Regions from separate parts of the Homo sapiens genome. Here region 2 is linked to region 1. The links are contacts of gene promoters, found by promoter capture Hi-C in human tissues and cell types (Jung and others, 2019). All regions are on one chromosome and are shown on one strand. The core of a region is centred on a gene start or on the middle of the fragment in contact, and the rest is flanking DNA. Distances in the headings are between cores, read along the strand shown. Region 1 holds the start of A2ML1 (alpha-2-macroglobulin like 1). Region 2 overlaps RIMKLB (ribosomal modification protein rimK like family member B).

Region 1 (6,190 bases), core at 395-2,894:
CTGAGCAATCAGCACTCCCCACTTCCCAAGCCCCTACCTGCCAAATTATCTTTAAAAACTCTGATCCACGAAGGCTCAAGGATTTAAGTAATAATAAAACTCCAGTCTCCCACACAGCCGGCTCTGCGTGAATTACTCTTTTGCCATTGCAGTTCCCCTGTCTTGATAAATCGGCTCTGTCTAGGCAGCAAGCAAGGTGAATCCATTGGGTGGTTACAAAACGGGGTCTCACTATGTTGCCCAGGCTGGTCTCAAACTCTTGGGCTCAAGCAATCCTCCAGCTTCTGACTCCCAAAAGCTGGGATTATAGGCATGAGCCACTGCACTTAGACTAATTTATATTTTAGGTGACTTCTAAGTATTACCATCATAAAGAACACTGTGGGCTGGGCACGGTGGCTCATACCTGTAATCCCAGCACTTTGGGAGGCTGAGGTGGTCCCTGGAGCTCAGGAGTTCGAGACTAGCCTGGGCAACATGGTGAAACCCTGTCTCTATTAAAAATACAAAACAATTAGCCAGGAGTGTTGGTGCCTACCTGTGGTCCCAGCTACTCAGGAGGTGGAGGTGGGAGGATCGCTTGAGCCCAGGAGGTCAAAGCTGCAGTGGGCTGAGATTGTGCCACTGCACTCCAGCCTGGGTGATAAAGTGAGACTCTACTTCAAAAAAATAAAAAATAAAGAAAAGAAAAAAAAGAAAGAACAGTGTGAAAAAACTCAGTGTTACACTTGTGCATACATGCATGCTGTCCTTTTTTTCCTCATTAAGAAACATTTCCAGAGTAGGAGTTGCTGAGTGAAAGAATATGCAAATCTCAAAGGCTTTGGTGTGTATTACAAAATTGCCATGAGAAAGTTATCCACATTCTATTTTCTCTAGGACTGTGTGTGTCCCTATTTCCATACAGTCACAACAATACTGAGTAGTATTAATTTTTTTTTTTTTTGAGACAGAGTCTCGTTGTGTCACCCACGCTGGAGTAAAGTGGCATGATCTCGGCTCACTGCAACCTCCACCTCCCGGGTTCAAGCGATTCTCCTGCCTCAGCCTCCCAAGTAGCTGGGACTATAGGCACCCACCACTATGCCCAGCTGATTTTTTTTTCTTTGTATTTTTAGTAGAGACAGGGTTTCACTATGTTGGCCAGGCTGGTCTTGAACTCCTGACCTGGTGATCTGCCCACCTCAACCCCCCAAAGTGCTGGGATTACAGGCGTGAGCCACTGTGACCGGCCAAGTTTACTGCTTTTCTATTGAAACTGTTCTCATACCCGTGTTCCCAACTACACCTTAATTGAATAATAAAAGAAAATAAGGACATTAAATGAGAACAGGAATTGGAATGAGACCAGAAAAAAAGGGAGGAGTTCAAAATATGTTCTGAGAGCTTTACCATTATGAATACTCAGCTCTGGTTTTCCCCCAAAACTGGCTGAACCAGTATGGATGTTCCAGGCAGAAACAACTTTAAAGAAGTGAATAGTGGCCCTACCCTGGTCCACCACCTAACCTGGTGGTTACAGAAGGAGGAACACAGTCCTCCTGTGTTCCAGGTGCCAGGAGGTGACTGACTATAGCATCAGTCATCACTGCACACCCTACCTGGAATTAGTATATAAAGCTACGCGGAGCGATCTCTGCCCCTGACCCTGGAAAAATCTGTCTCACCCACAAAGATGTGGGCTCAGCTCCTTCTAGGAATGTTGGCCCTATCACCAGCCATTGCAGAAGAACTTCCGTGAGTGCTTGGTGTCAGAATTGGTTTATTAGGGCAGCGGCTTCTTCGCCTAACTTTCTCAAACATTTATATGGAGATGGGGAGATCAACTTTGGTTTATCTTAATTTCCTCCTCCTTTTTTCTCTTCTTTGGTTCCACTGATCCTTTACCCAGAGAGGGAGGCTGACGCATGAAGAGGAAGCTTTAAAAAAGATAAATATTAAAATGTGCCCTGTTTTCTGAAATAGGCCTAATTTCCTCCTTGGTGCTCTAGGCATGTGTGCTCGGTGAGGGCCTCCTGATGGCGGAAGTTGAAGACTGTGCACTGAGTCGTTGCCCCTCTGCTTCTTGTAGAAAATGAGGTGCATAAGGAAGGCAGGGGCTTGGTCTGTCTAATTCACTGCTACTTGCTGAGCGCTTAGGAGAGTGCTGGATTTTTCGAGTGAATGAATCATTATTGCCCTGAAATCCTTCTGCTCCTTTAATAGAAACTACCTGGTGACATTACCAGCCCGGCTAAATTTCCCCTCCGTTCAGAAGGTTTGTTTGGACCTGAGCCCTGGGTACAGTGATGTTAAATTCACGGTTACTCTGGAGACCAAGGACAAGACCCAGAAGTTGCTAGAATACTCTGGACTGAAGAAGAGGCACTTACATTGTATCTCCTTTCTTGTAAGCACAGACTCAGCCCTCACTCGAATCCCTTACTTGCCTATTCTCCTCCCTAGGCTCACTATAATCTACTTTAAGTATAATTTCTGTTATCTTTTGCCACGGCCTCTAAACCTATTTTTTCTCAACTTAACCTCAATCCCCGGCTATAACTCACCCACGGTTTCCTCGACCTAGGATTTCTCCCTTTAGTTCCTGACCTTAATTCTTCCTCGTGGTAATTTGTTTTATGTCTCTATCCTTGCTACCCCCATCTAACTCAGCTCTTTCCTTTAACTCACTGTTGGGTTGAGACCAGTTGATTCTGTTCCCCCAATCCCTTACCCCTCCCCAGAAGTCCCCTTTCTTGGTCAGGTACCACCTCCTGCTGGTGGCACAGAAGAAGTGGCCACAATCCGGGTGTCGGGAGTTGGAAATAACATCAGCTTTGAGGAGAAGAAAAAGGTTCTAATTCAGAGGCAGGGGAACGGCACCTTTGTACAGACTGACAAACCTCTCTACACCCCAGGGCAGCAAGGTAAGAGTCACATATTTGGGGTTCGACTAAAACCTGGGGAAACCGCTGTGCACAGGGGTAAAGAGGGGATTTGTGGTTTGACAGTAGGCTTTGGAAAAAAAGGAGTGCAGAGGAGAGGAAAATCTGGGGGGATTAAGTAGTGCAAGTGTTGAATACATGCTGCGCTACACAAGCAAGAGAAGTAGGTGGGGGTTGCTACTGAGTTTGTGTATCTAAAACAAAAGTACACATTTCTTCTGGAATAGAATTTGGCAAGTATAACTGGGTTGCTGGGCCTTACAACAAACTGCTTGTAAATGGCTAAGAAAGCACTGAGGGCATTTGGCTTGAGCTACTGGGGTTTTTTTTTTTTTTTTTTTTTTTTTTTGTATTTGTTCATTCGTCCTTACAGGGGCACTTCATTCTGAGATTTCAAAGTCAGGCACCCTGAAAAGAAACTATGTTTGGGTTTTTTTTATTTTTTTATTTAAAATTTTTGTGGGTACATAGCTGGTGTATATATATTTATGGGGTAGATGAGATATTTTTATACACACACACAATGTGTAATCATTACATCAGGGTACATGTGTATCCATCACCTCAAGCATTTATCATTTCCTTGTATTACAAACAATCCAATTATACTCTCTTAGTAATTTTTAAATGTGCAATAAATTATTGTTGACTGTAGTCACTCTTTGTGCTAAAAACTACAAGATCCCTAGATCTTATTCATTCTAGCTAAATATATTTTTGTACCCATTAACCATTCCCACCCCACCCCTCATCCTGCCCACCATTACCCTTCCCAGCATCTGGTAACCATCATTCTGTTCTCTCTCTCTCTTTCAAAAAAATTTTTTTCCTTTTACCTTATTTTTTTCCACACACTTAAAAATTATTATTCTATTCTCTATCTCCACGACTTCAATTGTTTTAATTTTTAGCTCCCACAAATAAATGAGAACATGGAAAGTTTGTCTTTCTGTGTCTGGTTTATTTTACTTAACATAATGACCTCCTGTTCCATTCAGGCTGTTGCAAAGGATGGGGTCTCATTCTTTTTTATGGCTGAATAGTACTCCATTATGTATGTGTACCACATTTTTTAATCCATTTTTTATCATCTGTTCATAGACACTTAGGTTGCTTCCATATCTTGGCTATTGTGAATACTGATGCCATAAACATGGCAGCACAGATAGTCTTTGATATACTGATTTCCTTTCTTTTGTATATATACTTAGCAGTGGGCTTGCAGGATTATATGGAAGCTCTATTTTTAGTTTTTTTCAGAAACCTCCAAACTGTTCTCCATAGTGGTTGTACTAATTTACATTCCCACCAACAGTGTATGAGGGTTCTCTTTTCTCCACATCCTCACCAGCATTTATTATTGTTTGTCTTTTGGAAAAAAGCCATTTTAACTGGGGTGAGATAATATCTCATTGTAGTTTTGATTTACATTTCTCTGACAGTCAATGATTTGAGCACCTTTTTTATATACCTGTTTGCCATTTGTATGTCTTCTTTTGAGAAATGTCTATTCAGATCTTTTTGCCCGTTCTTTAATCTGATTACTAGATGTTTTCCTATACAGCTGTCTGAGCTCCTTATATATTCTGGTTATTAATCCCTTGTCAGATGGGTAGTTTGCAAATATTTTCTTTCATTCTGTGGGTTGTCTCTTTGTTGATTGTTTCCTTTGCTGTGCAGAAGCTTTTTAACTTGATGTGATCCTGTTTGTCCATTTTTGCTTTGGTTTCTTGTGCTCCTTGGGTATTACTCAAGAAATCTTTGCCCAGACCAATGTTCTGGAGAGTTTCCCCAAAGTTTTCTTATATATAATAGTTTCATAGATTGAGGTATTAGATTTAAATCTTTCATCCATTTTGACTTGATTTTTCTATATGGAGAGAGATGAGGGTCTAGTTTCATTCTTCTGCATATGGATATCCAATTTTCCCAGAACCATTTATTGAAGAGCCTGTGCTTTCTCCAGTGTATACACTTGTCACCTTTGTCAAAAATGAGTTCACCCTAGACATGTTTCTGGGTTCTCTATTCTGTTCCATTGGTCTATGTATTTGTTTTTATGACAGTACCATGCTGTTTTGGTTACTATAGCTTTGCAGTATAATTTGAAGTCATGTAATGTGATTCTTCCAGCTTTGTTCTTTTTGTTCAGAATAGATTTGGTTATTTTAGGTCTTTTATGGTTCCATAAAAATTTTATGATTTTTTTTACAAAAGTCCTAAGATTTAGGATGTAGAATTTCTGTGAAGAATGTCATTAGTATTCTGATAGGGATTGCAATGAACCTGTAGATTGCCTTAGGTAGTACGGAATTTTAACAATATCAATTCTTCCAATCCAGAAACATGAAATCTCTTTTCATGTTTTTGTGTGTCCTCTTCAATTTCTTTCATCAGTATTTTATAGTTTTTATTGTTGAGATCTTTCACTTCTTTGGTAAAGTTTATTCCTAGGTATTTTATATTATTTATAGCTATTGTAAATGGAATTATCTTTCTTAATTTCTTTTTCAGATTGTTCCCTGTTGGCATATAGAAATGTTACTGAATTTTTTTTGTTTTTGAGACAGAGTCTCCCTCTGTTGCCCAGGCTGTGGAGTGCAGTGGCGGGATCACTGCTTACTGCAACCTCTGCCTCCTGGGTTCAAGTGATTCTTGTGCTTCAGCATCCCAAGTAGCTGGGAGTACAGGCATGCGCCACCATGCCCAGCTAATTTTTGTTTTTGTTTTTTTGTTTTTTGAGATGGAGTCTCATTCTGCCGCGCAGGCTGGAATGCAATAAATGGTTGCTCATTGCAGCCTCTGCCTCCTGGGTTCAAGTGATTCTCCTGCCTCAGCCTCCCGAGTAGCTGGGTTTACAGGTGAGCGCCACCACCCCTGGCTAATTTTTGTATTTTTGGTAGAGATGGAGTTTCGCCATGTTGGCCAGGCTGGTCTCCAACTCCTGACCTCAAGTTATCCTCCCCACTCAGCCTCCCAAAGTGCTGGGGTTACACGCGTAAGCCACCACGTCTGTCTTCTTGCACTTTTAGGATTCTTTTTTGTTTTTTATTCCTTGATGTTTGGGAGTTTGATTATTAAATGTCTTGAGGTAGACTCATTTGGGCTAAATCTGCTTGGTGTTCTATAATCTTGTAATTAATATTGATATCTTTCTCAGCTGGGCTCAGTGGCTCATGCTTGTAATCCCAGCACTTTGGGAGGCTGAGGTGGGCAAATCACCTGAGATGAGTATTTCGAGACCAGCCTGGCCAACATGGCAAAAC
Region 2 (6,622 bases), core at 4,029-6,528, 85 kb before region 1:
AACTGTATATTTACTGCATTGTGTATTTTTGGGGTGGTGTTACCTCTTCTTTAATAAGGAAGAAGGAAAAATGGTTCAGAATCTTAGCATTCAGATAATCTGACATTTTAACATTAATAACTATTGTATGCGTATCCTAAGAGTCAAAAAGTACTAATGGCATAATTAAAATGCAGACACTTTGTGAAGATAATGCCCATCACCTGCCTTCTTGAATATTCTTCCGGGGGAAAGCGTTATGCATGCAACAGAAAATTATATATATATACACACACACACACACACACACACACTCTCTTTAATTTTTTTACGCAAAAGAATCATACACATTGCTCTGAATATTATTTTTCCCTGACTTAATATTTTAGAGGTTTTTATATGTCAGCCCAGCCAAAATTCTTTATTCTTCCATTTTTAGTTGAGGTATAATTCATACAATATACCGCATAGGTCTTCTTATTGGTGGACGTTTGTGTTGTTTCCAGTTTGCAACTTTGAATAAGTCAGCTATAAACAAATCTTTTTGATGACGTTTATTGTTGTTTTTCTTGGGAATGTACCCAATATTTAGTATGGCTGTATACTATTCAGTTGTATAGAATTGTGATTTAGAAATACCCGTAGACATTTTGTTTGAAACAACTGGGCAGGAGGTTGCTCTTGGCAGCTAATGGATAGAGGCTAAGGATGCTGCTAAATATCTCGTAAGGCATAGTACAGCCCCCAACAACAAAGAATTATTCTGTTCAGAAATATCAGTTCTTGAATTTATATTATACATATTTTATTTAGAAAACAAATGCTTCTTGTTAAAGCAAAAAAAAAAAAAAGACTCATTTTAAAACCTTTGCTCAGATCATTGCCACATCTTAACTCAGGATCTACTATTATTTCAAAGTTACAAGATGAGATCCATCGTGTAGTATCTGTTTACTACCATAGCCATGAATAGACACGGAGGAGGAGAATGTTCTATTATTAAGTAACCTGAATATAAGGAAAAACATGAAATTGCTTTAAGTCTGAAAAAGTGAGAAACTAGAATAAGTTGAGATTTTAAATTCATGTGAAGAAAAGAGTTTGTTAATTAAAATTGATTCAGGCTGGGCATGGTGGCTCACGCCTGTAATCCCAGCACTTTGGGAGGCCAAGGCAGGAAGATCATGTGAGGCCAGGAGTTCAAGACCAGCCTGGGCAACATAGCAAGACCTTGTCACTACAAAAAATAAAATAAAAAGAAGAAATTAGCCGGACGTGATGGTGCACACCTGTAGTCCTAGCTACTCGGAGAGGCTGAGGTAGGAGGATTGATTGAGCACAGGAATTGGAGGCTGAAGTGAGCTATGACCATTGCACTCTAGCCTGGGTGACACAGTGAGACCCTGTCTCTGGATAGATGATAGGTGATTGTTAGATTGATCGATTGATTTAGGTAGATTGTATGACTACTTACTGAGTGTCTACTATATATTGACACTTTGAAAGGTACAGTGTTTGAGGAGGACACTGTCCTCACCCCATCAAGTGCTTGTAGGTCTACTAGAGGACAATAAAATAGTGGTTATAATAGAAGTACAAATAAGGTACTTGGAGAACACAGAGGAATTATCTGGTAAGGCAAAGGAATGGTGAAGTTTCGTGGAAAAGTTGTATTTTACCTAGGCCTAATGGTACCAAAGTAGACTTAAGGCAAAGAAAGGAGCCTAAATCTGAGATATGGGAGAAGGAAGGAGAACTTGGAGAAAGGATAATTTGACCTAATTATTGCCAAATTCAGAAATATAAGGGTTTGAACTAGGGGAGCAGTTCAAAGCTGTTCATGGGAGACAGTAATCTTGTATTTTAACATGGCTGGAAATAGAATGAGCTAGTTTACCTGAAAGGTATTTTGAAAGTAAATATATTGGTTCTGGTGACCTATTGACGCTTAGAAAGTTTGTTTATGTTCTTATGAGCAGGAAGTTAGTGCCTACTACCCTCACCTTAATACCTTTATTATGTATGCATAAGAAGCTTTGTCTCATAGATGAAAAATATTTTATTAAATCATATAGTATTTAATGACATCTAAGGAATCAAGCTATATTTGGACTGAATGTGAGTTCATTTAGTGGTACTCATGGGTGTAAAAATCCTTGATTTTGTTTTTGTTGGTGGCCACTGGGTTTAGATGTTGTCATGTTTTACTTGCCCATAGTATTGTGTAGCTTCTCAAAGTTTATTTTAGTTGTTTCTTTTTATTAACTAATTCAACACAGGAAGTAGGAAGGGGTTAACTTGTATTCCAAATTATTTTATAAAAATAGATATATTTATTTATTTAAAATAAAAAGCATCTTCCAGATGGAGAAAGTAATAAATGCCAAGAGGCAAACTGAATTCTATCTTCGATGTTCCAGTTAGCCATTGGTTAAAACCTTTGGAGTTCTTTGTAGTCCTTTTATGAGACTTGATGTCAGCTAAGCAAATAATACATTAAGGATCAGAAATTTCACTTCAGGGGAAAATGAGGAGAATTGAGGTAGTTTTCTCGCTTCTGTCATCTTCTGGATTATATTTCTTAAATTTCATCTAATAGGCAATAAGAAAAACTGTCCTTATATGGGTACAGAAAGTTTGTAGGTCAAATCAAAAATTTTGTTTTCCTTGGTCAGAGAGCTGCAGAATATTTGGTAATGATGTCAGCTGTGGGGTATTGCTGCCTACTTATCAGGCAGCAATATTTATCAAGCAGGCTAAAATTTTTTTTTTTCTTTTTTACATGGATCCTTGCTTTGTTGCCCAGGCTGGAATGCATTGCCACAATCTTGGCCCATTGCATCCTCTACCTCCTGGGTTCAAGTGATTTTCCTGCCTCAGCTTCTAAAGTAGCTGGAACTACAGGCGCACACCACCATGCCCAGCTAATTTTTGTATTTTTAGTAGAGACGGGGCTTTGCCATGTTGGCCAGGCTGGTGTCGAACTCCTGACCTCAGGTGATCTGCCAGCCTCAGCCTCCCAAAGTTCTGGGAATATAGGCGTGAGCCACTGTGCTCAGCCTAAATTTTTTTTTTTTAATGTAAATACCAAGAGATTAAGCTTTAAAACAGAGGGGAAGTATTGCTAAGTAGATGAGATACATAATTAGCTTTGGGTCAAAAATTTTAAAACTTTATTCACTGAACTTTTGCCTGTTTTTGTTTAATGACATATTTATGGGAATGGTTATTGATTTTAGACTTTCTTCGTTTTTTTTTTTGTCTGTCTGTTTGTTTTTTAAGACGTAGTTTCGCTCTTATTGCTCAGGCTGGAGTGCAATGGCGGGATCCCGGCTCACTGCAACCCCTGCCTCCCAGGTTCAAGGAATTCTCCTGCCTCAGCCTCCTGAGTAGCTGGGATTACAGGCATGCACTGCCACGCCCCGCTAATTTTGTATTTTTAATAGAGACAGGGTTTCTTCATGTTAGTCAGGCTGGTCTCAAACTCCCGACCTCAGGTGATCTGCCTGCCTCAGCCTCCCAAAGTGCTGGGATTACAGGTGTGAGCCACTGCCCTGGCCTAATTTTAGACTTTTTATTGTCTGTATTAATCTCTTCAGTGCAGCAAGTTAACCAATTTTGTTACAACTGAAAGATTTCTTCCTCACATGGTAGTGTTTTCCAGTTTTGGAGTGGAAAACCATTGTTAGTTCTATTTTAGTTTTAAGGATGGGCCTAATTTTAGAAAGCTACAAGTTTGGTGTCTGCTTGAAAATTATTTTCTTTTTATAAGGTGCTATTTAGGGAGGCTGGGTAATTTCTTTCTCCAAGCAGTTAAAATGAAAAGTCTACTAGCTTTGTCTTTCTTTTAAGAACTTTTTATTTTGAAATAGTTGGAAATTTATAGAGATGTTGCAAAAATAATACAAATAGCTCGTATATACTGTTTATTCAGTTTTCACCCATTGTTAATATTTGGCCACATTTGCTTTGCCACTCCGTGTAGTTTGTTTGTTTGTTTTCTGAGCTATTTAGATCAAGGTGCCCCAAATTCTTAAGCATGTATTTCCTTTTTTTTTTTTTTTTTTTGACGGGTCTTGCTCTGTCTCCCAGGCTGGAGTGCAGTGGTGTGATCACAGCTCACTGCAACGTTGACCTCCCTGGGTAGGAGTATAGGTGTGTGTCATGACACCCAACTAATTTTTGTTTGTTTTTTGTGGAGATGAGGTATTTCATTATGTTATCCAGGCTGGTCTTGAACTCCTGGGCTCAAGCAATCCCAACTGCCTCAGCCTCCCAAAGTGCTGAGATTATAGATGTGAGCCACCTCACCCAGCCAGTTTCAGGAATTTTAATACTGCTATTAATTACTTTCTTTTTTGAGACGGAGTTTCGCTCTTCTTGCCCAGGCTGGAATGCAATGGCACGATCTCTGCTCACTGCAGCTTCTGCCTCCCGCGTTCAGGCAGTTCTCCTGCCTCAGCCTCTCAAGTAGCTGGGATTACAGGCATGTGCCACCACGCCCAGCTAATTTTTTGTATTTTTAGTAGAGACGGGGTTTCACCATGTTGGCCAGGCTGGTCTTGAACTCCTAACCTCAGGTGATCCTCCCGCCTTGGCCTCCCAAAGTGCTGGTATTACAGACGTGAGCCATCGTGCCCAGCCTTATTAATTACTATTAACTAATATATAGTTCATACTCAAAAATAGCTATATCATTTTAGCATTTTTTTCTCCTTTATCCAGGATTTCAAGATCACACATTGTATTTGTCATGTGTCTTTAGTTTCCTTTAATCATGACTTTTTTTTTTTTTTTGCCTGTGTCTTTTTTGACATTTTTGTAGAGTACAAGTGAGCTTTTCTGCAGAATGTCCCTCAGTTTGGATTTGTCTGATATATACTAAGGATTAGAGTTAGGTTATGCATTTTTGGTAAGAATATCACATAAGTGAAATGCTGTACTTCATAATTCTTTAGATCAGGAGGCATATACCCATTTTTCTCAACATTTGATTACTTGGTTAAGGTCTTCCAAGTTTCCTTACTATATAGATATAGTGTTTTTCTTTATTAATAATATGTGGGGAGATTGAGACTGTAAATATCCTATTTTTATATCAGACTTTGAATAGTTTTAGCCTCCATTGATGAATCTTGCCTCAATCAATTATGATGTTGTTACAAAATGGATTTTCCCCCCCTCATCTCTATTATTCATTCTGTATTTATTAGTTGGTATTGTACTGTAAGGAAGGATTTTCTCTCTCTCTCTTTTTTATTTTGGAGATGAGTTTCACTCTTGTTGCCCAGGCTGCAGTGCAATGGCGTGATCTTGGCTCACCATAAGCTCTGCCTCACAGCTTCAAGCGATTCTCTTCCCTCAGCCTTCCAAGTAGCTGGGATTACAGGCATGCGCCACCACGCCCGGCTAATTTTGTATTTTTAGTAGAGACGGAGTTTCTCCATGTTGGTCAGACTGGTCTCGAACTCATGACCTCAGGTGATCCGCCTGCCTCGGCCTCCCAAAGTGCTAGGATTACAGGTGTGAGCCACTGCGCCTGGCCCATGAATTTTCTCTATTATCTTCTGGATTTATGGTCTCATTCAAAAAATTATAATCCATTACTGTCACTATTCATTTTGCTTAAATTGTCAGGGTTAGGGACAGTGGGAGCCTCGACCTACCTGGCCTCAGGTGATCCCAAGCCGAGCCTCTTGAGTAGCTGGAACTACAGGCATGTACCACTGTGCCCAGCTAAGTTTTGTATTTTTTTGTAGAGACAGAGTTTTGCTATGTTGCCTAGCCTACCTTGGAACTCCTGAGGTTCAAGCAGTCTGCCTGCCTCAACTTCCTGGAGTTCTGGGATTACAGGGATGAACCACCACACCGTGCAATTAATGGTTTTTGAATATACATCCTAAGTGTTTCTGCTGGAGAACGCAAAGCTTAAAATAGCATTCTTCATAAAAAGTTGATGTAGTAATAACGAGCTGTTTCTTAGAACTCATTTTGAAAATGCAGTAACCAAGGCCTGAAGTAATGACCTATGTGAAGTCCATTAAAATGTCTTCTTTCCTGGACAGTATTTGTATGGTCATCCGTGATGTTTTCTTCTTGACTATTCATTATTTCATAAGACTTTTAAATCTTTTTGTCTGATTACACACACACAACACGATTGCAAAAATGTATTTAGTCTAAATAAGAAAAGGAGAGTAGAGAGAAAAGTTGTAGTTTTCTTATTGAGAATTACAGTGTTCATGGGGAATGGGTGGGAGGAGTGATACCCCCCGTCCCCCAGCCAAGCTAATTGGTGAGGGAAGCTCCAAGAAATTTCATTTATATAGATGGAAGATGTTACAAAAAGTGACTGGCATGTTACTTCTCAACTGGATAGTTTCTGAGTTAGTAGTTTTGTTGGAATAGTCCATTCCATCAGAACATTTAAGAGATCTTGGTAGTTTGTGTGTGGTAAGACAGACAAGGACAGTTCCTTCTCTGTGAATTAGAGATCTACCATACAGCTTTGTCACATTTGAGGTTAACACTTAGGATTCTAGTATTGCTGGTGAGCTAGAAAAATGCCTTTTCATTCCACCATTCTGAAAGTCTTGCTTCTAGAAAAGACTTTTTTAAATTGATGATCTTAGTTTGGGCTGCT

Evidence for each region. The method cuts DNA at HindIII sites, captures the fragments that hold promoters and counts their contacts. A contact is called where the count stands out against the background at its distance.
Region 2: a fragment that was not itself captured here is called in contact with the fragment with the promoter of A2ML1 in region 1 in 4 of the 25 tissues and cell types used here (H1 embryonic stem cells, adrenal gland, aorta and 1 more).

Annotation. Positions count from the first base shown.
Region 1 is chr12:8,820,977-8,827,166 of GRCh38, forward strand. A2ML1 (alpha-2-macroglobulin like 1) reads left to right here and starts at 1,645. Exons shown (of 36, transcript NM_144670.6): 1 at 1,645-1,737; 2 at 2,206-2,389; 3 at 2,744-2,906. The coding sequence starts at 1,676. All of the region lies in intron 1 of A2ML1-AS1 (A2ML1 antisense RNA 1), which reads right to left. The HindIII fragment of the contact is 7,738 bases long and covers 1-3,263 here.
Region 2 is chr12:8,732,490-8,739,111 of GRCh38, forward strand. The region is part of intron 2 of RIMKLB (ribosomal modification protein rimK like family member B); the gene reads left to right. Among named protein-coding and RNA genes, the nearest start is that of RIMKLB, 38 kb to the left of the region's middle. The HindIII fragment of the contact is 5,464 bases long and covers 2,547-6,622 here.